Linked DNA regions of Homo sapiens: regions 2, 3, 4, 5, 6 and 7 are each linked to region 1. Evidence: promoter capture Hi-C in 16 types of primary human blood cells and fetal thymus (Javierre and others, 2016). All regions are on one chromosome and are shown on one strand. Each heading gives the region's core, a stretch centred on a gene start or on the middle of the fragment in contact. The rest is flanking DNA. Distances are from core to core; before and after follow the strand shown.

What was found. Contacts are between HindIII fragments. The CHiCAGO score rates a contact against its expected background, and 5 or more counts as called.
Region 2: a fragment that was not itself captured here is called in contact with the fragment with the promoter of DSTN in region 1 in 2 of 17 cell types (monocytes and neutrophils); the score reaches 6.2 in monocytes.
Region 3: a contact is called between a fragment that was not itself captured here and the fragment with the promoter of DSTN in region 1, in 1 of 17 cell types (naive B cells). The highest score is 6.2, in naive B cells.
Region 4: a contact is called between a fragment that was not itself captured here and the fragment with the promoter of DSTN in region 1, in 11 of 17 cell types (total B cells, naive B cells, monocytes and 8 more). The highest score is 16.2, in total B cells.
Region 5: a contact is called between a fragment that was not itself captured here and the fragment with the promoter of DSTN in region 1, in 14 of 17 cell types (fetal thymus, activated CD4 T cells, total CD8 T cells and 11 more). The highest score is 11.6, in fetal thymus.
Region 6: a contact is called between a fragment that was not itself captured here and the fragment with the promoter of DSTN in region 1, in 7 of 17 cell types (M0 macrophages, naive B cells, total B cells and 4 more). The highest score is 8.9, in M0 macrophages.
Region 7: a fragment that was not itself captured here is called in contact with the fragment with the promoter of DSTN in region 1 in 2 of 17 cell types (total B cells and naive B cells); the score reaches 6.4 in total B cells.

Annotation. Positions count from the first base shown.
Region 1 is chr20:17,567,944-17,571,632 of GRCh38, forward strand. It overlaps DSTN (destrin, actin depolymerizing factor), which reads left to right and starts at 2,132. Exons shown (of 4, transcript NM_006870.4): 1 at 2,132-2,268. The coding sequence starts at 2,266. It also overlaps a transcript of BFSP1 not described here. RefSeq lists an enhancer at 1,095-1,662 and silencers at 2,073-2,262, 2,283-2,572. The HindIII fragment of the contact is 8,997 bases long and covers 1-2,918 here.
Region 2 is chr20:18,051,581-18,055,269 of GRCh38, forward strand. The region is part of intron 2 of OVOL2 (ovo like zinc finger 2); the gene reads right to left. Among named protein-coding and RNA genes, the nearest start is that of OVOL2, 4.5 kb to the right of the region's middle. RefSeq lists an enhancer at 1,913-2,413. The HindIII fragment of the contact is 9,441 bases long and covers 1-3,689 here.
Region 3 is chr20:18,028,527-18,032,215 of GRCh38, forward strand. All of the region lies in intron 3 of OVOL2 (ovo like zinc finger 2), which reads right to left. Among named protein-coding and RNA genes, the nearest start is that of OVOL2, 28 kb to the right of the region's middle. The HindIII fragment of the contact is 2,472 bases long and covers 873-3,344 here.
Region 4 is chr20:17,998,661-18,002,349 of GRCh38, forward strand. No RefSeq gene overlaps it. Among named protein-coding and RNA genes, the nearest start is that of MGME1, 31 kb to the left of the region's middle. RefSeq lists an enhancer at 1,265-1,766. The HindIII fragment of the contact is 3,176 bases long and covers 57-3,232 here.
Region 5 is chr20:17,979,268-17,982,956 of GRCh38, forward strand. All of the region lies in intron 3 of MGME1 (mitochondrial genome maintenance exonuclease 1), which reads left to right. Among named protein-coding and RNA genes, the nearest start is that of MGME1, 12 kb to the left of the region's middle. The HindIII fragment of the contact is 5,928 bases long and covers 1-3,689 here.
Region 6 is chr20:17,903,477-17,907,165 of GRCh38, forward strand. It overlaps the pseudogene RNU6-192P. Among named protein-coding and RNA genes, the nearest start is that of SNORD17, 58 kb to the right of the region's middle. RefSeq lists an enhancer at 683-742 and a silencer at 3,584-3,689. The HindIII fragment of the contact is 1,108 bases long and covers 1,377-2,484 here.
Region 7 is chr20:17,886,643-17,890,331 of GRCh38, forward strand. No RefSeq gene overlaps it. Among named protein-coding and RNA genes, the nearest start is that of SNORD17, 74 kb to the right of the region's middle. RefSeq lists a silencer at 803-1,097 and an enhancer at 980-2,179. The HindIII fragment of the contact is 4,582 bases long and covers 1-3,689 here.

The DNA of each region.
Region 1 (3,689 bases), core at 882-3,381:
ACGGGGCACGAAAAAAAAAAAAAGAAGGAACTACTATTGATCCTTGGGAAGTGGTAAGAGAAGTCTTCAGATGCGAAGGGTGATAGGAACATCCCAGGCTGAAAAAATAAGCAGGCCCATGATCAAGGTAGTTAGAACTAGTAAGAGGTGTTCTGGAATGAGAAGTTTCGTCTGGGAGGGGCAGTGGGCACTTAGGAAGATATGGGAGATAGGGCAGAAAAAGTAGGCTGAGGCCAGAGGCAGACGGGCCAGACTGACCTGCTGAGGGTTATGGAGGAAGCCACAGCAAATTTTAAGCAAGAATGTAACAAGACCAGTCTTATGTTTGGACCTAACTCTGGTGGCAGAGTGGAGGACGAAATGCAGGAGAGGCTGGAGCAAGCAGGCAGGCATGTATCCTTAAATGAGCACCATTCACTTTTGGACTAGAAAGGAAGTCTGAATATTAAGAAGTGTAAGGGCCACAGGGTCCTAGGCAGGCAGAAAAGCAAAGGGTTCCAGCTGCAGGAGGATACAGGGGGGTTCCTTCTCAGTTCAGGAGTGTGGTCTCGGACTGGCATCTTCAGCATCACCTAGGAGTTGTTAGAAATGCCCATTCTCAAGCATCATCTTAGAAGCAGTGAGGGAACCTTGGGGATGGGGCACACAAATCTAGCTTTGAACAACTTTTCCAGGTGATTCTGATGCATGCTAAAGAACCACTGCTCTAGCCCGCCAAAAATCATGTCTCAGGTGGTAAAGGCTTAGAACTGCACAACTTACTGTCTTTTTTAAAAAGAACGAGGGTAATGAGAAATGGGTTCCTATGTTGAGTGGGGCAGAACAAAAGCCACATACAACCTAGATTTTACGTAGTGCCGGAAAAAAAAATACTGACCATCTTGTCCAAAAGTCTCATATTTGGAGAATTAAAATAGTTTTGGTCGAGGCCATGATGTTCTCGGTAACCTAAATTAATTTATAAAATTCTTTGTTCCCTTTATTTCCCACAAAAACACCCGCAGCAAAAACGCTGGGATTCATCTGGGCCCTCTGAAAACCGTGTTTCCGACGCAACCGCCCATTAGAAAAACACAATTCCAAATTAAAAACCCGGAGAACTGAGCGGCGGGGCTGGCGCCACCGTCCCGGGACAGCGCGGCCTTTCCCAGCCACACCCCTGCGCGCCGCCGGCCTCCTTCCCCGGCAGTTCCCAAAGATAAATAAATGCTCCTTGTTTTTCCAGACCTGAAATTAACGGTGACTCACAGAGCACTCTGCATGGCCACGGTCGCCTCGGGAAGGAGGAAAAATGTGCAGACTTTTTTCCCCTCACGCGAGGGCAGGACAAGCCAGACTGGGCCAATCAGGGGAGGGCGGCGGGAATCGCACCAAAGTAGGTAAAAAATGCGGGAGGCGTCCCCGCTGCCGCGGCCCGCGACTCCGCTCCCGTGGGTCCTCCCCCAGTGCGTTCCCCCTCCTCGGGCCCTGCCCTCCCAACCCCCAACATCTCTCTCCTTCCACCACTGTGTCCCTCTCCCTCACCTCTCCCCTTGCCCCCACCTCCCCCACTAAGTGCCCCCTCGCCCCTCCCCCCACATCCCCCTCCTCTCCCCACACTGTCCCCTCTCCCTCACCTCTTCCCTCCCCTCTCCATCCTCCTCCTCCCCCAACTATGTGCCCCTCGCCTCTCCCCTCCAAATCCCCCTCCTTCCCACACTCTGTACCCCTCTCCCCCGGCTCTCCCCTCCTTTTCCCCTCCACGGCCTCGCCCCGCCCCAGCGGCAGGCACACCTGGCCAGGTGGCTGCCTCCCCGCGCGGGCCATGCCTGCACAGTGGGTGGGGCGTCAGGTGGCCCCGCCGAGGAGGCGAAGGAAGGCCACCCCTCCCCCATCATCTTTTGCCCGCCCCTCGCCAGCAGGAGCCAGCCCAGTCCGCCTTCTAGCCTCCTGCAGACCAGAGAGGACGCACCCCCACCCCTAAACACTTTCTGGTGAGGCGGACCCTGCCCCGCAGCCTTCAGCAGATGAGGGAAGCTCCCCTCCGAGACTCTGGATAGCCGCCGGGGGGGCGTTGCCTGGCCGGCTGGTTGCGTAGCAACGGCAGGCGGTGCGTGACGTGCGCAGCCGCGTTCCGTCCTGAGGCGCGCCCGCCCCGGGGTAAGCTCGCGCCGCCGCGTCAGCTCAGCGCTGGGTCTCTCGGTCCCGCAGCCGTGAGGAGGACGGTCTGCATACTCGCTGCCCGCCGGCTCCCTCCCCCGCGTCCCTGCGACCGCCGCGGCGAAGATGGTGAGTAGGAGGGAGGCCGAGGCGTGGGCCGAGGCGGCCGGGAGCAGTGTGTCTCTGGGGCGCCGCGGAGTCGGGGCTAAGGGGGTGAGCCGTGCCTCAGCCCGGGGAGGGACCCGGTCCGGCTGCAGTGTCCGGGCTGCGGGTGAGGGGGGGTCTCTGGGCCTCCGTCTCCCGCCGTCCTGGCTGGGCCCCCGCGCCCCGGGGTGGATCCGCGGCTGTTGCGCAGCTCCCAGCTGGGGCGAGGCCGCCGCCCTGAGCGTGGCCTCTGCGGGTGTCTCCAGACCCGGCCTTGCAACAACTGGCTGGGGTCGAGCGCCCCCACCCGCTCTGTGAAATCCATCCGGGGGTCTGCACACCGAGGCCGGGGAGTGGGGGGCGGGGGGCGTCGGAATCCGGCCACCGTCCTTGTTGGCGTGGGTTTCCCCAGAGCTGGCGCTGAGGCGCTTGGTGACTTGTGCGCGTTCCAGCCCTTGAGGTCTGTCCATCTCAATAAGGAAGATAAAGCCTTTATGGAACAGTCCTAGAGCACGGAATGATCGCTAACGAGCAGGATCCTGGCATGATTTAGAACGGGGTGGCCTTGCAGCTCCTTTGTTTTTTTCTTTTTATCTGGCAATCGGCTTCCAGCAGCACTCTCGTCGTGCTTGTCAAGCTTGGCAGTGTCTGTTTTAACCCTTCCCTGCCCGATCTGTCCGTGTATGGTTAGAATTTTTTTTCTGACCTGTAGACAGTTGGACTCTGCCAGAACTTGGTGCGCAAGGTGTGGGCATGATGCTGGGATGCTGATACAACCAAATTTAAGAGCTTTAAAAACCATTAAAATACTGGAGTCACCAGAAAGTAAACAGGTGCTCATTAGTATATTCTATATGATGGACATTTTGCTTAATTTACATATTTTCCCCCTTTACACTGTCACTCTAATTAGCTATTTAAAAACGTATTCTCAACTGAACTATCAGTTGGAACATTTTGTCGTTTTCGTTAGTGTGCACACACTGTTACCATTTTTGGTCAGTGATTTGCAGGCGTAGCCTTACCAGACTTTGCTAGAAATATTACACTGTAATTGCATCTGTCTAGAAGCAGTTGGTACCAGCTTATCTGCATACAAACTGTTTTCACTGTATAACAGTTTTGGTTTTCTTAAGTTACTACAACTTCCGTGAACATGCAGGCGGCCCCTTAGTGAAAGAAAAGATAAACCGGTAGTTTCTTGATGACTGTAGATATGTATGTAATAGGGATTTGATACTGTTCAGTTTTTGGTTCTTCTTTGGTTTAATGCTGTAAGCTACAAAGTATCAGCATCTTGAGTCTTTTTAATATCTAATTATTAGAAATTTAATAACATTTTAAATGTATATGCTACTTTATACTGAAAGACTTAATCTAGGGGCTTTGAGTTATGGTACGCTTAA
Region 2 (3,689 bases), core at 833-3,332, 480 kb after region 1:
TGAAATAAAATAGAGCTGACCAAGCAGGGAGAGTTGCATTATCCAATAGAACTTTTTGTGGTGACAGAAAAATTATATTCTGTACTGTCCAGTACATTAGCCTCTGGTCACACATGGCTACTAGCATTTGAAATGTCGCTAGTAGGACTGAAGAACTTAACTGTTATTTTGAGACAGGGTCTCGCTCTGTTGTCCAGGCTGGAGTGCAGTGGTGCAATCTTGGCTCACTGCAATCTCCACCTCCTGGGTTCAAGCGATTCTCCTGCCTCAGCATCCTGAGTAGCCTGAATTACAGGTGCATGCCACCAAGCCCTACTAATTTTTTTTGTATTTTTTTTTAATAGAGTCGGGGTTTCAACATGTTGGCCAGGCTGGTCTTGAACTCCTGACCTCAGGTGATCCGCCCGCCTCGGCCTCCCAAAGTGCTGGGATTACAGGCATGAGCTATGGCGCCTGGTCTAATTGTTAATTCTTAATTGACTATGGCTGTGATAGTCACATGTGATACTGGATGCTGCAGCTGCAGATCCAACTATCCGTTTAGAGAAAACCTAGGGGACTGAGAAACATTAGGCACATGGTGATGCGCTCAGCAAAATCCAGACTGTTGGGGACTCTACAAAACAAATCACCCATTTCTTCAACAATTAACTTGATGGAGGGAAAATGTATGAAATTAAAAGAGGCTCAAAAGACATGCCAATCAATTACAATGTGTGGACATTATGTGGACCTGATTAAGCAAACTGGAGGGGAAAAGTATTAATTTATGAGACAATTAGTAATGTGAACACAATTGGTAATGTGGGTGTGATCATGAATTTTGGTCTTTATCCACTAAACGCACATTCTGAACTATTTATGGTTGAAATGGTATGATGTCCTAGATTTGCTTCAGAATCATGCATGGGGCAAGGGGTGGGAGTGTGGCTGGGCAGGACTGGCCATGGGTTAATGGTTGTTGGGGCTGGGTGGCAGATACGTATGACTATGCCTTTGAGATTGTAAATAATACAAAGTGATGGGGGTATGGGGACTACTCCGTAGACACACATCTGCACCACTACAAGACTCGATAGAGAGCCGGGTAAAAGGCCAAGCATACTTTTGAAAGAATCTAAACTTAATTTATTTTGAAGAACCCATGGGAGAGGACAAAAAGAAAGAACAGAATAGGAAAGGGTGAGAGGACAAATTCACTTGGTACTCCATACTTGGACCTGGGTCCTACCAGCCAGAGAATCACGTATGAATACTATCAGCCAACTTCAGAGTTACTTACTTTCTAATAAGCCTCCAAAGGACAATGGTGATTAGTATTTCCTGGGTTTCTCTACCCCGCAGCTGAAGACCTGCAGATGGATCCAGCACAAAAGGGACCTGCCATGCACACTCTCTGGAATGTACATCATCTTCTCACCCTTATTTGTTTGGCAAATTACAGAATTCTCAGTAGTAAAGAGACAATTTCACAATCTGCCCTGAGGCACACCGTCAAAAGGCAGGTAGGCTGGGAAGGGCCAGCCACATTTCCTAATCTGCACCTCGGACTCCTTTTCCAGATCCACCCATCAACACGATCAAGTTAGTGAATCCCATGTCCTTACAGCCAACAAAATGTTGGGCATTAAAACTTGCTGTATGTCACTGTCAGCTAACTTCCTCTTGGGCAGTTTACACATGCACAGAAAGCTAAACACTTTACACCCACTATCTCATTTAATCTATGCAACTCTTCTAGGAGGCTGATTCTTTGAGTCCTCCACTTTACAGATCAAGGAACTGAGGCTCAGAAGAGATAATGATCCATGAACACAGCCGTTAAGAGGGACCCAAATGGCAGGGCGCGGTGGCTCACACCTGTAATCCCAGCACTTTGGGAGGCCAAGGTGGGCAGATCACCTGAGGTCAGGAGTTCAAGACCAGCCTGGACAACATGGCGAAACTTCGTCTCTATTAAAAATACAAAAATCAGCCAGGCTTTGTGGTAGGTGCCTGTAATCCCAGCTACTTGGGAGGCTGAGGCAGGAGAATCACTTGAACCTGGGAGGCAGAGTTTGCAGTGAGCTGAGATTGCGCAACTGTACTCCAGCTCCAGGCGACAGAGAGAGACTCTGTCTCAAAAAAAAAAAAAAAAAAGAGGAACCCGATTGAGGTTTTCCTTCTTACATCATCCAGAGCTTCTCCTCTGCCCAGCAGGAGCACCCATATTTCTTGGCTTGGCCCCTTCACCATCTCACCCTGTCCTGGTTACATTTCCAGCTCTTTACCGCCAACTCTCTCCCTGACCCCAGCAAGCCCTGTTTCCTATCTTCAGCCACCAGAGCTTCATCCTTTCTATGCTCCAGCTGCGGGACTCAGCCCACACTGCCCTCAGGCCCACCCGCCTCCCTTCTCCCCAGCCTTCAAATCCACATCAGGACACTTTCCCCACTCAAATCGGTCACGTCTTTGTTTGGAATTCTGGTTTCACATTCACTGTCCTGCAGCAGAGTTAATAATGTTTGTGTCTCCCTATTAACCTGAATACTATCTATGGTTATTGGGCACATACCATGTTCTACCCTCCACTCATTTATCCTCACGATGCTATCAAGTAGGTATCATTATCATCTTACAGATAAGGAAACCGAGGCTCAGAGGGGTGAGCCACTTGCTCAAGGTCCACAGCTAAGAAGTGACAAAGCCAGAGCTTATATGATTAACCGCTACTGCCAGATGATTCTGGAAGGAACACCAGGGTGGGAGCATTTTTACCTCCTGCTGCCTTGCACACCCCAGGTGTTAGACGGGCAGAGTGTTGCTTCTCTGTGCCAGGCAATAGCTCAAACCTGCCCTTCTTGTGGTCCTGGGAGCCCACTGCCTAAGAAACTAATTCTTGGCTGGATGCGGTGGCTCACGCCTGTAATCCCAGCACTTTGGGAGGCTGAGGCAGGCGGATCACCTGAGGTCGGGAGTTCAAGACCAGGCTGACCAACATGGAGAAACCCTGTCTCTACTAAAATTACAAAATTAGCCGGCGATGGTGGCGTATGCCTGTAATCCCAGCTGCTCGGAAGGCTGAGGCAGGAGAATCACTTGAACCCGGGAGGCAGAGGTTGCAGTGAGCTAAGATCCAGCCATTGCACTCAGCTAAGATCCAGCCATTGCACTCCAGCCTGGGCAACAACAGCGAAACTCCATCTCAAAAAAAAAAAAAAAAGAAAGAAAAGAAAAGAAAAGAAAAGAAACTAATTCTTAGAGAAATTGTGAGTTCAGCATGCCTTGGAAAGAACTTTATAATTATACAACGTGCTAAGTCACAGGCAATTTGGTCAGTCATTTGAAAACTGCCAATGCCATGGCTGATAATAATTCTGGAGGCTTGGAGCATATTAACACCAAAATGTTTCCTTTTTGGGGGTAGAGGCAGAAAGAGGGAACCTAAACATCCCCAGTAAATAAAAATTCCCCTGGAAACTATGGAAAGAAGACTCTTAACGGTTCAGGAGTGAACTGTGCCTCCCGCCCCCCTTCCCCCAGCACACAGGCAACTAATCTAGGAAATAAGATTGGTTTACGTCTTCCTTTAATCCAGGATTCCAACGGCCCTGTGTGCCTGAGGCAGAAGAGTTTGCCTAAAATATTTGTTAAGAGACTGGATGAGAATCTGTCACTTTCTCTCCAGGGGAATCTGGGCAATTGGGGGA
Region 3 (3,689 bases), core at 859-3,358, 460 kb after region 1:
TCACGCTTGTAATCCTAGCATTTTGGGAGGCCGGGCTGGGTGGATCGCCTGAGGTCGGGAGTTCGAGACCTGCCTGGCCAATACAGTGAAACCCCGTCTCTAGTAAAAATACAAAAATTAGCCTGGTGTGGTGGCCCACATCTGTAATCTCAGCTACCTGGGAGAATGAGGCACGAAAATTGCTTGAACCCAGCAGGCAGAGGTTGCAGTGAGCTGAGATAGTGCCACCGCACTCCAGCCTGGGCAATAGAGCGAGACCCTGTCTCAAATAAATACATAAATAAATAAACAAAATAAATAACAAAAGGTTACTATTAATAGTTGTTTAAATTTAAAAGTAATATACCCCCCAGTTTTATGGTGAAAAACAGCAGTAAATTAAAAAAAATAAAACAGAAAAGATCCCTTTGTCACCCCATGCACCTCTCCTTCCCTAGTCCTAACTCGCAAGTTTCTTGTGATCCTTCACATTTTCTACAAATTATATATATGTACATTTTTATTTTATTTTATTTTTTGAGAAGGAGTCTCACTCTGTCTCCCAGGCTGCAGTGCAGTGGCACAATGTCGGCTCACTGCAACCTCTGCCTCCTGGGTTCAAGCGAGTATCCTGCCTCAGCCTCCCTAGTAGCTGGGACCACAGGTGCCTGCTACAATGTCCAGCTAACTTTTGTATTTTTTTAGTAGAGACCGGGTTTCACCATGTTGACCAGGCTGATCTTGAACTCCTGACCTCAGGAGATCCACCTGCCTCGGCCTCCCAAAGTGCTGGGATTACAGGCATGAGCCACCACGCCCGGCCTACATATGTATTTTAAGATTAATAAATATATGTCATCTCTGGGTGTTGCCTGAGCAGGAGAATTTGTTAAAGCTTCCCCAGGAGGCTCTAGTGTGCAGCCAAGTATGAAAACGAGAGTTCTAAATAAATGCACATTCACATTGGCATATGCACGGATGTACATGTTTCCGAAACATAAACCTGGGGTTCTGGAGAGACGGTCTGGAGGGTGGTGAAGGCTTACACTTGCCATTGCGTCCCTGTCTGTACTACTTCCCATCTCCAACCACCTGCCAGTATTAATAATAATAATTTTCGTACTAACTGTGGTTCCTTCTGGGCAGTGTAATGACAATGAATCTCCCACCTTTTCTCTTAAAACTATTCTAGGATGGGTGCATGGCTCACACCTGTAATCCCAGCACTTTGGGAGGCCAAGGCAGGAGGATCTCTTGAGTCCAGGAGTTCGAGACTAGCCTGGCGAACATGGGGAGATCCCTGTCTTTACAAAAAAGTAAAAAATTAGCTGGGCATGGTGGCATGCCCCTGTGGTCCCAGCTACTCAGGAGGCTAAGGTGGGAGAGATCACTGGAACCCAGGAATTCAAGGCTACAGTGAGCCATGATCGCACCACTGCACTCCAGCCTGGGCGAGAGTGAGACCCTGTCTCAGAAAAACAGAAAACAAACAAACCAACCCTCACCAATCAAGGTTAAGAAAGTTTTAAGGCAATATTTTAAAAATCAAAATATCGAATGAATGGATGAACTCTGTTGGTTCCAGGAAAGAAAGGCCACATCTTTGGGACTAGTTTTCCACATAGGCAAGGACTACAGACTCCTCTCCTAAGGAATGCGCCCGCTCTAGCTTTCATGTTTGCACTGTAATGCAGACTTTGTGTTTTCCCGGCCTTCTGGGCCCATGCAGCAGCGAGCAGCTGGCTCCCACTACCCAGTAGATCAAGCGGCAAACCCGATTTCCAACCTTCAGCTCATCAGAGCAGAAATCCACCCAGAGATTAGTTGCTCCTTTCACTAGTTAGTAGAAATAACCGACTACTGTTTTAAAACATCCAAACTAAAAATATGGGGAAGCTGGCACACTTAACATCAGGCTTTAACCTGGATGCAACAAACTCCTGGAGGTTCCCATCCTCAAAGGTGATCTGCCCCCGAGGAGAGGCCAGCCAGGCCACCACTCAGCCCCATGTGCACAGGGCCACATCTCCTTCCTCTCTTCAGTCAACACAGCCTCTGAGCATCTTCTATGAGCAGAGTACCCAGCAAGGCCTGGATAGCAAACGCTAGAAGATTCCAAAGCCCTGCATCATGCAAACAAGAGAGATGATGGCAGTGGGGGCTTTTTTTCCAGGGAGTGGGTAGAATTAGAGCCTGGCTTGGAAGAGGAGTGACTCGCAGACAGAGATGGAAAGGAGACATAGGCCCAGAAAGCTCCAGTTATGGCACTTCTGACTTTTGCCAAATGCACTGCTCTGTGCCCCAGCACTTCTGCTTCCCCATTTGCTAGTGTAAACGCCACCATTCACCCCTCATTCACTGGTGCGGGCACTGCCATGCGGCAGCCCCTTGGTGACCCTTTCTAGGCTTGGGAACAAGCACCTCCCTCCCAGAGCACCCCCATCACCCACACATTCAGGGGGACGTGGGTGGCCAGAGAGGAGCCCTGGGCAAGACGGACTGATGCCAAGGCCCCTCCCACCACTGAGGCTCACCCATCTTGGTGCTCTCACGCAAAGGCCAACCGTGCCTGTGTCTAAAGCAGGACATGGGAACTGAAGAGCACCACCCATGCGCTAGACGTCATTAACCTACTGACACCCACACGACTGTGAGTCCAAGGCCACCGAAGAGCCAGGCTGCGGATCTGCTGCTTATTAACTGAAACGGGGGCGGCTGCTCCAGCCCGAAAGGCCGTTTCCTCACCTGTCACAGGGGTGTCATAGCTCTTGCATGGCTGCTGTGAGGATTAGCCGAGATAGACTAAGTTCTCAATGGGATACAGCTCAACATAATGCAGATAAGCCTCATTCGTAAGCTGGCTGCTGACCAGCCTGGCCAATATGGTGAAACCCCACCTCTACTAAAAAATACAAAAAAAATTTAGCCGGGCATGGTGGCGAGTGCCTGTAATCCCAGCTACTCGGGAGGCCAGGGCAGGAGAATCGCTGGAATCTGGGAGGCAGAGGTTGCAGTGAGCTGAGATGGCGCCACTGCACTCCAACCTGGGTAACGGAGCGAGACTCTATCTCAGAAAAAAAACAAAACAAAAACATAAGCTGGCTGCTGGGTACATGAGTATTTCGCAGATTTGTCTTTAAACTGTACCTATATGTATACTTTTGTACGTGTTACTTATTTCACAACAAAAGGAAAGGATAATTTTTTAAAATGTGGCTGGTGGAGGAGAGGGGGGACTGCTTTCGCCGTCTGCCCTTTTGAATTTTGTACCATCAGCCTGTCCTACCTAGTCCGAAAAATATTGTTTATTGGGTTATCAAAAAGGGTTTGTTGTTTTCCATTTTTTTACCCCTAATAGCAAATCAAGCTTCGTGCCATACATCCTCAAGGAAAATTCTACACTTTGGAACTTTCTAGTTGCTTTCCTTGCTATAGCTCAACTGCTCCTTTACTGAACTTTATCCGAAGGTGAACTTCAGCGAGAAGATTTTTACAGGCATGCTTGTGGGAGTGGACATTTACGGCAGCCTCCCCGGAAGGCAATTTGGCAATGGCCATAAAAAAAAATCACACTGTATCTACCCTTTGGCCCAGCAATTTCACATCAGGGAAATTATCCTACAGGAAGACTCACACAGGGAGGCGAAGGATATACAAGATATACTCATGGTAGGATTGCCTGAAATGAAAGAAAGGAAAGAAGGAAGGAA
Region 4 (3,689 bases), core at 395-2,894, 430 kb after region 1:
TGTGAGCTCAGTGATTTGAAAGTTTTGAGTATATGAAGAAAAAAAAAAGAAATGAAAGCTTTGTGTAGAACTAGGGGAGTCTCGCAGTGAAACAAGACTTGCAAAATAGGATTAATGAGGCAGTACAGATAAGGATGCGATGCTGAAGAAAGTCATGGGATTGTAGTTAGACGGTGTATAAATCAGAGAGCTAAAACCAATAGGGCTTGTAGATATAGGTATATGACAGGGGATTTATTAGGGGAATGGGCTCACACAATTATGGGGGCTGAGAAGTCCTACGGTCTGCTGTCTGCAGGCTGGAAAACCAGGGAAGCTGGTAGCATGGCTCCGTCCAAGTTCAAAAGCCTCAGAACCAGAGAACCTGATAGCACTCAGTCTCAGGCCGAAAGCCTGAGAATCCAGGAGGCCACTGGTGTCCCAGAGTCCAAAAGCTGGAGAAGCTGGAGTTCTGATGTCCAAGGGCAGGAGAAGAAGGGTGTTCCAGCTCCAGAAAACAGAGCAAATCCTCCTTTCCTTTGCCTTTTTGTTATCCTGGCCCTCAGCTGATGGACGGTGCCCCCTGACATTGAGTGAGGATGGATCTTCCTTACTCAGTCCACTGATTCAAATGCCAGTTTCTTCCAGAAACACCTCACAGACACCTCAAAATAATGCTTCGCCAGCTGTCTGGGTGTCATTAATCCAGTTACGCTGACACCTAAGATTGACCATCATAGGTGGTAATTCATTCCTTTACCCGACAAATGTCTTATTGAATATTCATGTCTGCCTTGTGCTAGTTTTTTGCAAAATGCATGGAGCTGACAGTCTAGAGAAAGGGCAAACAATTAATAAGTGAGAAAGTTAGTATGAAAATTACAGATTGACAGTGCCATGAAGAAACAGAGGATCACTGAGCCAGGAGGAGAATTGCAACTTTGGATTGTGTGGTCAGAGAGGGCTCCTCTGAGGGGCGACACATAACATGATACTTGAAGGAGGAAAGGAGGAAACGTGGCCAGCACTGCAGAGAGCCACAGGAAGAATATTCCAGCAGAAGGATCAGCATGTTCAAAGGCCCCAGGGTAGGAAAGAACAGCATGTTACAGGAGCTATAAGAACACAGGGGTGGCCAGAAGGCAGTGGGGAAAGGAAAGGAATTGCAGGCTGCAGAAGTGGGCGGGGGAGCCAGATGATGTCAAACTCAATATGCCATGGTAAGGAGTTTAGATTTTACTCTAAGATGGAAAGACAGGGATAAGCAGGGGAATAAAGCCATTCCATTGCCTTTTAAGAAGAGCGGGGCCAAGTGCAGTGGCTCTCACCGGTAATCCCAGCACTTTGGGAGGCCAAGGCAGGAGATCACTTGAGCCCAGGAGTTCGAAACCAGCCTGGGCAACATAGTGAGACCTCCACCTCTATTTTTTTTTATTTTATCTTATCTATTTTATTTTATTTATTTTGAGATGGAGTTTTGCTCTTGTCGCCTAGGCTGGAATGCAATGGCGCCACTTCGACTCACCGCAACATCTGCCTCCCAGGTTCGAGTGATTCTCCTGCCTCAGCCTCCCGAGTAGCTGGGATTACAGGTGCATGCCAACGCCACCATGCCTGGCTAATTTTTGTATTTTTAGTAGAGATGGGGTTTCACCAGGCTGGTCTCGAACTCCTGACCTCAAACGATCCACCTGCCTCGGCCTCCCAAAGTGCTGGGATTACAGGCATGAGCCACCGTACCTGGCCTAATTTAATTAAAATTATTTAAAAGACGAAGAAGAAGAAAAAGAAGAAGAAGAGGAGGAGGAGGAGGCGGCGGCGGCAGCAGCAGCAGCAGAAGCAGATCAGCATTGTTTGGAGAGCAGAATGCAGGAGGCAAGTGCTGAAGCACAGCCTGGCTGGACTATTATAGACAGAGCTATTATAATAGGAGTCAGCACACTGGCTCATCCACCAAATCCGGCTTGCTGCCTGATACAGTCTTTATACGGTCTGTGAGCATAGAGTTGTTTTTACATTTTTAAATGTTTGGAAAAAAAATCAAAAGTAGAGTCTTTTTATGGCATATATAATTTTTATAAAATTGTAAAGATTCGAATTCCAGTGTCTGTAAGTCAAGGTTTCCTGGAACACAGCATCACCCATTTGCTTTTGACTCTGGCTGCTTTCCTTCTGTAGCTGCAGGTTAAGTCGGTAACAGAGGCTGTATGGCCTGCAAAGCCTCAAGTATTTACTATCTGGACTTCTATAGAGTAAGTCTGCCGACTCTCAGTCTAGATGATAGAAGAGGTAGGCTGGCCTAGAGAAATGGCAGAGGAGGTGCTGGGAAGGAAGATTCGAGATGTATTTTGGGAGCCTTGCCTGAGGGTTTGAATGAGATGAGTGATGAAGAAGTATAAATGGAAGGTAAGTTGTAGGTTTAGGGCATGTGTGTTATTTGCTGACATGGGAAAGGCTGGAGGGAGAAAATCCAGGTCCAGCCCCATCTTTTCTCCTCACTAACACTATCAGTTAGCTTTGCTGTGCAATAAATCACCCAGCCTGGGCAACATGGTGAGACTCGCTTCTAGAAAAAACGGAAAAAAACAAAATAAAACAAACTAGCTGGTTGTGGTGGCACATGCCTGTGGTCCCAGCTACTTGGGAGGCTGAGTTGGGAGGATCGCTTGAGCCTGGGAGATAGAGGTTGCAGTGAGTCATGTTTGTGCCACAGCACTCCAGTCTGGGTGACAGAGTGAGACCTTGTCTCAAAAACAAGTAAATAAAAATCACCCCCAAATTCAGTGGTTTACGACTTATTTCTCATGATTCTGAGGTCAAGCTGAGCATTTCTGGTCTGTGCTGGCTCAAGTAGGGCTAGATGATTTAGGATGTCATCACTTAGATGTCTGAGGGTTGGCCTGGTGTCAGCTGGGGCCATGGAGATGCCTGGGCCTGGTGACTCTCATCCTCCAGAGGGCTAACCTGGGCTCTCATTCACGCAGCAGTAGCAGAAGGATTCCGGACAGCAGCAGAACAAGCCCCAGCACACAGCATTTCACAAGCCTCGGCTTGGGCCGTGCTGACTAATGTCTCGTTTGCCAAAGCAGGTCATGTGGCCAAGGCAAGACCAAAGGATAGAGAAATAAATTCCACCTCTTGCAGAGAGGAGCCAAAAACTCACATGGCAAAGGGCTGTGGAACAGGAAAGGGAACAATGGGCCCATTTTTACAACCCACCATGCTAACAGCATGACCCAGGCAAGTTATCTAAAGCTTTTGAGCCTCAGTGTCCTCGTCTGTAAATGGGTAAAATAATAACTACTTCATAGGGTATTCATAAAGACTAGAAATAGCTGGCACATAACATAGTAGTAGCTGTTTTATTGTTATCATCATAATGAAAAAGTTCAGTCCCTGCTGGGCAAACTCATATTTCCCAAACTCCAGTCACTCCTGTGCCACAAAAAAACTTTGTTTTTGCCATATCTGAGCACCACTTAAGACTATTAAACAGGTTCACTTTTTTTTTTTTTTTTTTTTTTTTAGACAGAGTCTCGCTCTGTTGCCAGGCTGGAGTGCAGTGGCACAATCTCGGCTCACTGCAACCTCTGCCTCCCGGTTTCAAGTGATTCTCCTGCCTCAGCCTCCTAAGTAGCTGGGACTACAGGCGCACACCACCATGTCCTGCTAATTTTTTTGTATTTCTAATAGAGATGGGGTTTTACCAT
Region 5 (3,689 bases), core at 448-2,947, 410 kb after region 1:
GGGGTTTTGCCATGTTGCTCAGGCTGATCTAGAATTCCTGAACTCAAGCAAGCTGCCTGTCTCCGTCTCCCAAAGTGCTGGGATTTACAGGTGTGAGGCACCGCGCCCAGCTAAGAATTTTTTATTTTTGTTATTTTTTTAATTTTATTTATTTATTTTTTTGAGATGGAGTCTTGCTCTGTCACCCAGGCTGGAGTGCAGTGGCGCGATCTCGGCTCACTGCACGCTCCGCCTCGGGTTCACGCCATTCTCCTACCTCAGCCTCCCCAGCAGCTGGGACTACAGGCGCATGCCACCACGCCCGGCTAATTTTTTTTTTTTTGTATTTTTAGTAGAGACAGGGTTTCACCGTGTTAGCCACAATGGTCTCGATCTCCTGACCTCGTGATCTGCCCGCCTCGGCCTCCCAAAGTGCTGGGATTACAGGTGTGAGCCACCGCACCGGGCCTAATAATTTTTTATTTTATTTTAGTTTATTTTTTTGAGGCAGTCTTTCACTGTCACCCATGCTGGAGTGCAGTGATGCATTCAGGGCTCACTGCAGTCTCTAACTCCCCAGGCTCAGGCTGTCCTTCCACCTCAGCTTCCCAAATAGCTGGAACTACAGGGATGCACCACCACACCCAACTAATTTTTCTATTTTTTGTAGATGTGGGGTCTCACCATTTTGCTCAGGCTGGTCTTGAACTCCTGGGCTCAAGTGATCCACCACCTCAGCCTCTCAAAGTGTTGGAATTACAAACGTGAGCCCCTATGCCTGGCCGATTTTGTTTTTGAGAAGGAGTTTTGCTGTTGTCGCCCAGGCTGGAGTACAATGGCGAGATCTTGGCTCACTACAACCTCTGCTTCCCGGGTTCAAGTGATTCTCCTGCCTCAGCCTCTCTAGTAGCTGGGATTACAGGCGCCTGCTACCATACCCAGCTCATTTTTGTATTTTTCATAGAGACGGGGTTTCACCATGTTGGCCAGGCTGGTCTCAAGCTCCTGACCTCAGGAGATCTGCCTGCCTCGGCCTCCCAAAGTGCTGGGATTACAGGTGTGAGCCACTGTGCCCGACCCCACTGAATTTTTAATGGGTAATATGCTATTAAGAGTAACTCCCCACACCCACTCTGTATTGAACCTCTGTTTAAAAAGCTCCTGTGTTCCTGAGATATTGTATGACCATATGTACAATCATTTGTCCCCACACTCATTTTTTAACACAAGATGATATACCCTGCTTTTTTCCACTTAAAAAAATTATTTAAAAAAAAATCAGGCTGGGCGCAGTGGCTCACACCTGTAATCCCAGTACTTTGGGAGGCCAAGGCAGGCAGATCACGAGGTCAGAAGATTGAGACCATCCTGGCTAACACGGTGAAACCCCATCTCTACTAAAAATACAAAAAGTTAGCCAGGCATGGTGGCAGGCGCCTGTAGTCCCAGCTACTTGGGAGGCTGAGGCAGGAGAATGGCGTGAACCCGGGAGGCGGAGCTGGCAGTGAGCTGAGATCACGCCACTGCACTCTAGCATGGGTGACAGAGTGAGACTCCATCTCAAAAAAAAAAAAAAAATCTTTTATTAGTTTATATAGATCTGTAACATTCTTTTCTCATGTAATAATTTTCCACCACCCACAATTAACACTTAACACTGGTGCATTTGCTTAAAACTTTTTTTTTCCTTATCCCTGTGATTACATGGAGATCTTTTTTTTAAAGAAATATAATATTACAGATTAACCCCAAATTCTGTTGAACCACCCGTGGCCAAAGGCGATTGCTGTTTTAAGTTTGGCACTACCTCCTTCTAGTCTGCCTTCTACGCTCTTTTTTGTTCTTTTCTTTTTTTAATGACCAATGATCTGTGACACAGCATCAGGAGAACCTAAGAATATGTGCCCTCTATACTCTTAGCACACACATAATGCTATGTATAATACACATGCATAGGCAGCACTTATGTATGATTTCATGCAGAACTGTGACAGTCATAATATACAGACATCTCTAGATACACAGCATCACAAAGCTAGTAAGATATTGGGCTCAGGAGCCAGCTGCTTGAGTTTGGATTCTGGCTTGGCTTTTCATCTTAACCTTAGATTAATTACTTAGTCGCTCTCTGTCTCAATTTATTCATCTTTAAGATAAGACAAATGGTAGTACCTACCTTGTTATAAAATGAGATATTCCCTGAAGAGTGCTTAATGCATACTATGTATTCAGTAGATGTTACATTATTATTTTGATCTACTTCTTTTTTTACTTTTTTATAGAAATAATTCTTGCTGTGTTGCCCAGACTAATCTAGAACTGGGAAGGAAGTATGATCCTCACCTCAGCCTCCCAAAGTGCTGGGATTACAGGCGTGAGCCACCTTGCCCAATCTACTACTCGTGTGTGTGTGTGTGTGTGTGTGTGTGTGTGTGTGTGTCAGAGTCTCGCTCTATTGCCCAGGCTGGAGTGCAGTGGCACAATCTGGACTCACTATAACCTCCGCCTCCCAGGTTCCAGCAATTCTGCCTCGCCCTCCTGAGTAGCTGGGATTACAGGTGCCTGGCTAATTTTTTTTGTATTTTTAATAGAGACAGGGTTTTGCCATGTTGGCCAGGCTTGTTTCGAACTCCTGACCTAAGGTGATCCACCCATCTCAGCCTCCCAAAGTGCTGGGATTACAGACTTGAGCCACTGCACCTGGCCCTACTTCTCTCTTAACTCGTTTTTTGTATTCTTTTGTATGAATGAGCCTTACCCATTTCCCTATTGGGAACACTCAGATTATTTCTAGTTTTCCACAATTACAAACAGTGCTGCAGCAAATGTGCCTCTTTGTATATTACAGAGCTGTTCTAGGCAGATGCACAGATTCATTTGTTTATTTATTTTTTTTCTTGAGACGGAGTTTCACCCTTGTTGCCCAGGCTGGAGTGAAATGGTGCGGCACCGCAACTTCCACCTCCTGGGTTCAAGCGATTCTCCTGTCTTGTACTCCCAAGTGGCTGAGATTACAGGCATGTGCCACCATGCTCAGCTAATTTTTTGTTTTTAGTGGAGACAGGGTTTCACCATGTTGGCCAGGTTGGTCTCGAACTCCTGACCTCAGGTGATCCACCCACCTCAGCCTCCCAAAGTGCTGGGATTACAGACATGAGCCACCATGCCTGGCCTGTTTGTTTTAGACGTGTGATATATGCAGTTACAATCCATTTAGTTGGTCTGAAGTAGACCCGGACATGACTGCTTCTTAAATCTCCCAGGCACTTGTCACTTCACTTGTACTCAGGATATCAAGCCATTGCTATCCTATACTTTAGGAAGGTTGCTGGGTCAAGGGTATGCATTTTAAATTACCAAGAATATGAGTGAATACATTTAACAATACAGTGTTAGTAATTTTGATAACATTGTATTTTTAATTTGCATGTCACATAAGTGAGACTGAGCATCTTTTCATTTAAGAGCTATTTGTGAACTGTTACTGTACTTTTAATTTGGGTTTACGCTACTATGATGTTAAAAAATGTTTTTGACTGACAATAATTATATATATTTATAGGCTACAGTATGATATTTTGATATATGTATACCTAATGGAAAGATTAAATAAGCTAATTATCATATCCATCACTTCACCTATTTATCATTTTTTGGTGGTGAGAATCTTTAAAATCTACTCTTTTAGCAACTTTTAAATATACAATGCA
Region 6 (3,689 bases), core at 681-3,180, 340 kb after region 1:
CACATGTATAAAATTGGAATGAAGGCCGGGCACCGTGGCTCACGTCTGTAATCCCAGCACTTTGGGAGGCTGAAGTGGGCGGATCACTTGAGGCCAGGAGTTCGAGACCAGTCTGGCCAACATGATGAAACCCGTTTCTACTAAAACTATGAAAACTAGCCGGGCGTGGTGGTGCATGCCTGTAATTCCAGCTACTCGGGAGGCTGAAGCAGGAACTCAGGAGGCACAGGTTTCAATGAGCCGAGATCACGCCACTGTACTCCAGCCTGGGTAACAGAGTGACACTCTGTCTCTAAATAAATAAATAAAACTGGAACAATACAGAGAAGATTAGCATGGCCCCTGCAAGGATGACACACGAATTCATGAAAAGTTCCATATCAATAAAAATTATTTTAAAATTTTTTTAAAAGAATGAGTTAAAGGAGACCCCAAAGGAGTGAGTGGGGGCTGGAGGCCAGGCCCACCATGGCAGAGGGTCAGACTTCATCAGGGTGAAAACTTCCTGCTGTGAAAAGCCAAACTACAGACTGGGAGAAAATGTTCACAGCACCTGTATCTGAAAAAGGATTTGCATTCCAAATACATAAAGAACCCATACAACTCACTAATAGGAAGGCAAACAGTGAAAACTGAGCAAAAGACATGAACAGACACTTCACAAAGGACATGCAAATGGCCAGCACGCACAGGAAGAGATGCTCACCCTCAGTAGTCTTCAGGGAGATGCAGAATGAAACCACAGTAAGATGCTACCTCACACTCACAAGCATGGCTGAAAATAAAAAGATGTGTAATACCAGTATTGGTTAGAATGTAGGGCAGCTGAAACTCCTAGCTCACTGGCAGGAACTTAAAATAGTACAGGCTGGATGCAGTGGCTCACGTCTGTAATCCCAGCACTTTGGGAGGCCAAGACGGGCAGACTGCTTGAGCCCAGGAGTTTGAGACCAGCCTGGGCAATGTGGCAAAACCCCATCTCTACTAAAAATACAAAAAATTAGCTGGGTGTGGTGGCATGCATCTGTAATACCAACTACCCCAGCAGGCTGAAGTGGGAGAATCACCTGAGCCAGGGAGGTCGAGACTGCAGTGAGCTGTGATCATGCTACTGCTCTCCAGCCTGGGTGATAGAGTGAGACCCTGTCTCAAAAAATAAAGATACAAATAAAATAAAATAGTACAACTGCTTGGGAGAACTACTGGAGTTTATTTTAAATCTAAACAAACACCCACCATTTGACCCAGCAATTCTACTGTTATGTATTTACTGAAGTACCATAAAAACATAGGCCCACAAAAAGACTTGTACACAAATGTGAATAGGCGTAAGTAGCTAGTGGCCACCATAATGCTGTTGGATTTGATTGCTCAAAAGCTTGTGGAAGTCTACATTGGAATAATAGGTTGCCTTTTTAAAAGGCTTGTATCCAAATGTGCGTAACAGCTTTATTCACGATTGCTAAAAATTGGAAACAATTCAAGTAATCCATCAACTAGGAAATGGGTAAACAAAATTTGTTCTCTTCATAGAAAGGGATAGTAATAAAAAGATTGAAATTACTAATAGATGCAACAACATGGATGAGTCTTAAAATCACTGTGTAAAATAAAAGCTGGATGCAAGAGTGCCTACCATATGATTCATTTATATAAAATTTTTAAACAAAGAGAACTAATTTATAGTTACAGAAAGCAGATCAACGATGAACTGGGACTGAGGTGACTGCAAGTGGGGGACTAAAACACTTTCTGGGGTGATGGACAGGTGTTATATCTTGTTTAGGTGCATGCATTTGTCAAAAGTTGTCCAACTGAATGCTTAAAATGTATGAATGAGTTTTATTGTATGTAAATTATACCTCAATAACGTTTATTTAAAATGAATTGGCCGGCACGGTGGCTTACGCCTGTAACCCCAGAACAGCACTTTGGGAGGCTGAGGCGGGTAGATCACCTGAGGTCAGGAGTTCAAGACCAGCCTGGCCAACATGGTGAAACCCTGTCTCTACTAAAAATACAAAAAAAAAAAGAAAAAAAAATTAGCCGGGCGTGGTGACAGGCACCTGTAATCCCAGCTACTCGGGAGTCTGAGGAAGGAGAATTGCTTGAACCCAGGAGGCGGAGGTTGCAGTGAGCCGAGATCGTGCCATTGCACTCCAGCATGAGAGACAGGGCAAGACTCCGTCTCAAAAATAAATAAATAAAATGAATCAAAAATAAAAATATAAAAAAATAGCAGAAAAGAAAAAAGGACAAGAATAAAATAAAAATAAAGAAAAGAAAAATAAAGAAAAAAATAAGAAACTTTGTGGTAAAAATAATAAAACAGTAAAATAGGAAGAGCACACAGAATGGGAAGAGAAATGGACCAAGGTGAAAACCGTGAAGAGCTGTCGAACTTGAAGAATAGAAAAGGAAGAATGAGCAGAGATGCACAGGCAGAGGTCAGAATGAAGTCCTCTGGGGGTCAAAGAAGTAAGAAGCTTGGTGGCCACAGACAGCAGAGAGTTAAAAGAGCCAAGGGGGCCAGCCAGTAAGATTAATGCCTGGAGAGGGCTGTAGGATGGGGCCCGAGTGGAGAAGTGACTCCTGAGAGGCCAGTTCTGAAGGTGGGTTGAGGGGTGATAACTTGGGCTGAGGGAGCAGAGAAGGAGCCTTCGGCAGCTTTGTCAGGGAGCCTGGGGAAGGAGAGTGGGCTCCAACAGGAGGCTGCTGGGAGAACCCCAGGGGAAACCCACCTGGTGGCCTCAATCTCCTGACACTGTCTTTCACGTCTTCATTCCTACACAGGGATAGATATTGCTATTTGACCACTGCCCCTGCACAAGGTGTGCCAAAAGTCCCCAAGCCCCTTTCCCATAAGAAGTTTACTGTATGTTTGCACTGAGGAAAGCTAAATAAGCTAGGTGAATTCCCCACCCCAAATTCCTAGGGATGCCGCTGGCTTGCCCCACCAAATCGGTCTCTCCTATCTGCCTGTATTGCTGGTGGGAATGTACTTTGGTTTGACTTCCATAGGAGCTGGTTTGGCAAAAACTATCAAAACTACAAATGCACACTGGAGGTACAAATACAACAGGAGGTATTTATGCTACGATAAACTTGCACACGGATGAAACCATGTATGTACTTGGTTATTTGTTGCCTCATTGTGATGCTGTTTGATCAAAACAGACCCAAATGCCCCTCAAGAAGGCCATTAGATAAATACTAATATGTTTTGTTTTGTTTTGTTTTGTTGAGATGGGGTTTCACTCTTGTTGCCCAGGCTGAAGTGCAATGGCATGATCTTGGCTCACTGCAACCTCTGCCTCCTAGATTCAAGTGATTCTCCTGCCTCAGCCTCTCGAGTAGTTGGGATTACAGGTGCCCATCACAACACCCAGCTACTTTTTGTATTTTTAATAGAGACAGGGTTTCGCCATGTTGGCCAGGCTGGTCTTGAACTCCTCACCTCAGGTGATCCACCCACCTCGGCCTCCCAAAGTGCTGAAATTACAGGCATGAGCCACCTCACATGGCCGTATTTTTTTTTTTTTTTTGAGACAGAGTCTTGTTCTGTCGCCCAAGTTGAAGTGCAGTGGCGCAATCTTGGCCCACTGTGACCTCCGCCTCCCAGGTTCAAGCAATTCTCGTGTCTCAGCCTCCCAAGTAGCTGGGATTACAGACGTGCACCACTATGCCCA
Region 7 (3,689 bases), core at 565-3,064, 320 kb after region 1:
GGCTGTGAGACATCGTGGCAGAGTAGTACTTCACTGATACTAATTCCAGGTATGACACCAAGAAGCCCAGCCCCAGGGCCCAGTGGTGGAGGGTGGGATTCTGCTCAACTGCAAGGCCCAAGCCCATCCCCAGTCCCCTGCCAGCAGACAAATGGCTGGACCCACACATAGCACTCTCTGCTCCTGGGACAGGATGTCAGCCAGCGCTCTGCTGGATACAAGATCTCAAAGACAGACATCAGGGAAACAGAGAGAGACCCACATGACTGTTTCAAACAAGTCATGCTCAAACCTTCTTCTTCTAATTCCTAATGTACCCCTCTCTTCTCACCTGATGCTAAGCAGTAACGGTGCCTTCATAAACTCGGAAAAGGAATCAGGAAAGCACCACCCTGGCCTGAGCAATAACAAAGTGCATGAAGGTCAGAAGCCGCTGTGTTTTTAAGAGGCTGTTTTATTTATTTATTTATTTAGAGACAGAGTCTTGCCCTGTCACCCAGGCTGGAGTGCAGTGGTATGATCTTGGCTCACCGCAACCTCTGCCTCCCGGATTCAAGCGATTCTCCTGCCTCAGCCTCCTGAGTAGCTGGGATTACAGGCACATGCCACCGCACCCAGCTAATTTTTGTATTTTTATTAGAAACAGGGTTTCACCATGTTGGCCAGCGTTGTCTTGAACTCCTGGCCACAAGTGATCCGCCCACCTCGGCCTCCCAAACTGGTAGGATTATAGGTGTGAGCCAGCGCGCCCAGCCAGAAGCTGTTTTTAATAACTGACCTTTTCAGACAAATCCCAGCAAACTTTCTCCCTTAGCACCATCTCTGAGGCCACGGTGGGTGGGGTGTGTCACCACGCCTCTCTGTAACACCTCCTGTGCCCTCTTGAAATGGTTATTGTTTCCTGAGTGGTGGCTGTGGACTTGTGGCCTCGTTAAGTCATATTATCTCAATGGAAGCCATTGTCTCCTGCTGGAGGCTCCACGGCTCCTGTCTTCATAATGCAACACCCTGACCCTGAAGTCTTGCTCTGTGGAGACTGTAACAAGATCCTGGCAGGGCTCAAAGGAAACCTTTCTTCTCTCCCAGCACATGCAGAAGTCCCACTGGCAGGGCCAAGGCATGGAGCTCTCCATCCCGGAACTGGGGCTTGAACTTGGCCAACCTGAGTTGGGGCAGATCATACCCTCCAGCTCTGGTCTGTCCTGATTTTCTTCTGGCCACAGCACATCCCCTCCCACTGTTCCTGTGGCAGCCAGCCTTCCAGATGCACCCCACCTCCTGGCAATCCTGCCCTCATGTAGTCCCCTCCCACATTAAATAGGGCTGACCTGTGTTACCAGTTGTGGAAATGACAGACTGTGACCAGGTCATCATAGATATTGCGGCTTCCATCTTGCTCTCTCTTGAATCACTCACGATGGCGAGAGTCAGCTGCCATGTTGTGAGGCTGCTTAAGCAGCCCTGTGCAGGCGTCCAGAAGGTGAAAAACTGAGGCCTCCTGCCAACAGCCACACGAACTCATCATCCGTGGTGGGAAGCCATCTCCAGCCCCAGCCACGCCTTCAGGTGACTACAAACCCAGCTGCATCTTGATGCCAACCTCATGAGTCAGAAGCCACTCCTGGATTCCCAACCCACAGAAACTGTGAGACATTAAATGATTATTGTTGCTTTAGGCCACTATGTTTTGTTCCACGGGATGATTTGTTCCACAGCATTAGCTAGCTAATATTCGTCCAGAGAGGTCAGCCTCCTGGGGTCAGAGTAGAGGAGGTCAGAGAATGAACACGGAGGGGCAGACAATGCAGAGTCAGAACACTTGGTTTCCTGATCCCATATTGTCCTGCTACACATTTTCAAAAAGGGGAGGGGTATTAAAAATGAAGCAAAGTAGTTCAGTATGCTTCAACCAGCCGTGATCACCCTGGGACCATCTGCTTCTATGAACTGGACACTATCGTCCCATAGTGCCCCAAATTAGGTTCCCCTTACAAAAACAGCACCACGCTGGTGGCGACTGAAACCCTGAGCTTCTTTTCACACACACCGCCCAGACCGCCCAGACCTCCTCAACTGGTTCTATGCTTGGACACCAGATTTCTCTTTAAAACCTAACTTTCTCTGATATCAATTGATCTTGGCCTTACTCCAAAGTTCCAATCTATCGAAATCACTTTCATCTCCCATTTGGCTGTCACTTTCACTGTTCCCTCCAATATGTGTCACCTGCACATCTGACCCTGTACTTTCTGCCATCTTCATCCAGAAAGTGGACTGAACGTTGATTGGCTAGGGCAGAGCTCACCACAGAGCCCTTTGGTACTCCATGACCACCAGGGCAACGGACTCCTTGATGGCAAACACTTTGCTGATAGACGTGCAATCTGCCATAAATCCCACCAAAAAACACCGTCATTACCAGTGAGTTTGCCAATCCTTTATTAAAATGCCGGCTGGGGGTGGTGGCCTATGCCTGTAGTCCCAGCTACTCAGGAGGCTGAGACTGGATCACTGGGGCCCAGGTGTTCGAGATTGGCATAAACAACATAGCAAGACCCTGTCTCACAAAAAAACAAAAAACAAAAAACAAAAAAAAACAGTAACATAAAATGCTGGCTGGACACAAATTTATTTACCCCATTATCCAGTACTGTCTAAAAAGAAAGTTGGTTTGTGTATTCGTTGCCTGTGGTTGCTATAATTACCATGAACTTTTGGTCTTAAAACAACAGAAATTTATTACCTCACAGTCCTGGAGACCAGAAGTCTGAAATCAGTGCCACCAAACTGAAATCAATCCATCAGTGGGGCTGTGCTCCCTCTGGAGGCTTTAGGAGAGAAACTGTTCCTTGCCTCTTCCAGCTTCTGGGAGCTACAGCATTCCTTGGCTTATGGCCACATCACTCTAATTCTCACATCCAGTGTCTTCAAATCCTTCTCTTCTCTGTCTTCACATGGCTTTCTTCTCTGAGTGTGAGTCAAGTCTAACTCTGTCTTATATGGACACTTGTGATGGCATTTAGGGCCCACAGGAGAGTCCAGGATAATCTCTTATCTCAAGATTCTTACTCACTTCTGCAAAGACCCATTTTTCTTACAGGGTAACATTTATAGGCTCCAAGGGTTAGGACCTGATATCTCTAGGGGGCCATTATGCCACCCACCACAGCTGGGCACAGCTCATCCCCACCAAACTCTCCCACCTCACCATCACTGCATTTTTTTTCCCTGCTGTTCACAAATGAGTTTATGTCACGCTCTGCTCTATAATTTTCCAAAAGTCAACATCAAGGTTACTGTCTCTACATTTTGGAATCTGCTTGAGACCTGTAATTCACCCAGCCACATCAGTCTGGACATTAAAAAGAGGTCATAATAAACAAAAATAGCATTTCTTAGGTTTGCCATTATTGCTGGCTCTCCAGTCCCTTAGAAACGTCAAGAATTCTCAGAATGTGTTCTCAAGTGGAGGCAGCATAGAGGTTGCAATCAGCTTCTCAAGTCAGACTGCCTGGGTCTGAATACTGCCTCTGTCACTATGGCCAACTGTGTCTTCCAAAGATGGCCACAAAAATCTCTCCCTTCCCACATGCTCTTCTGCAGCATGGCCTTGCCCCATCCCACCAGGGGGTCCATTTCTTCACCCCGCTCTAAAATGCATATGGCACAAGTGACACTGCCATTTAAAG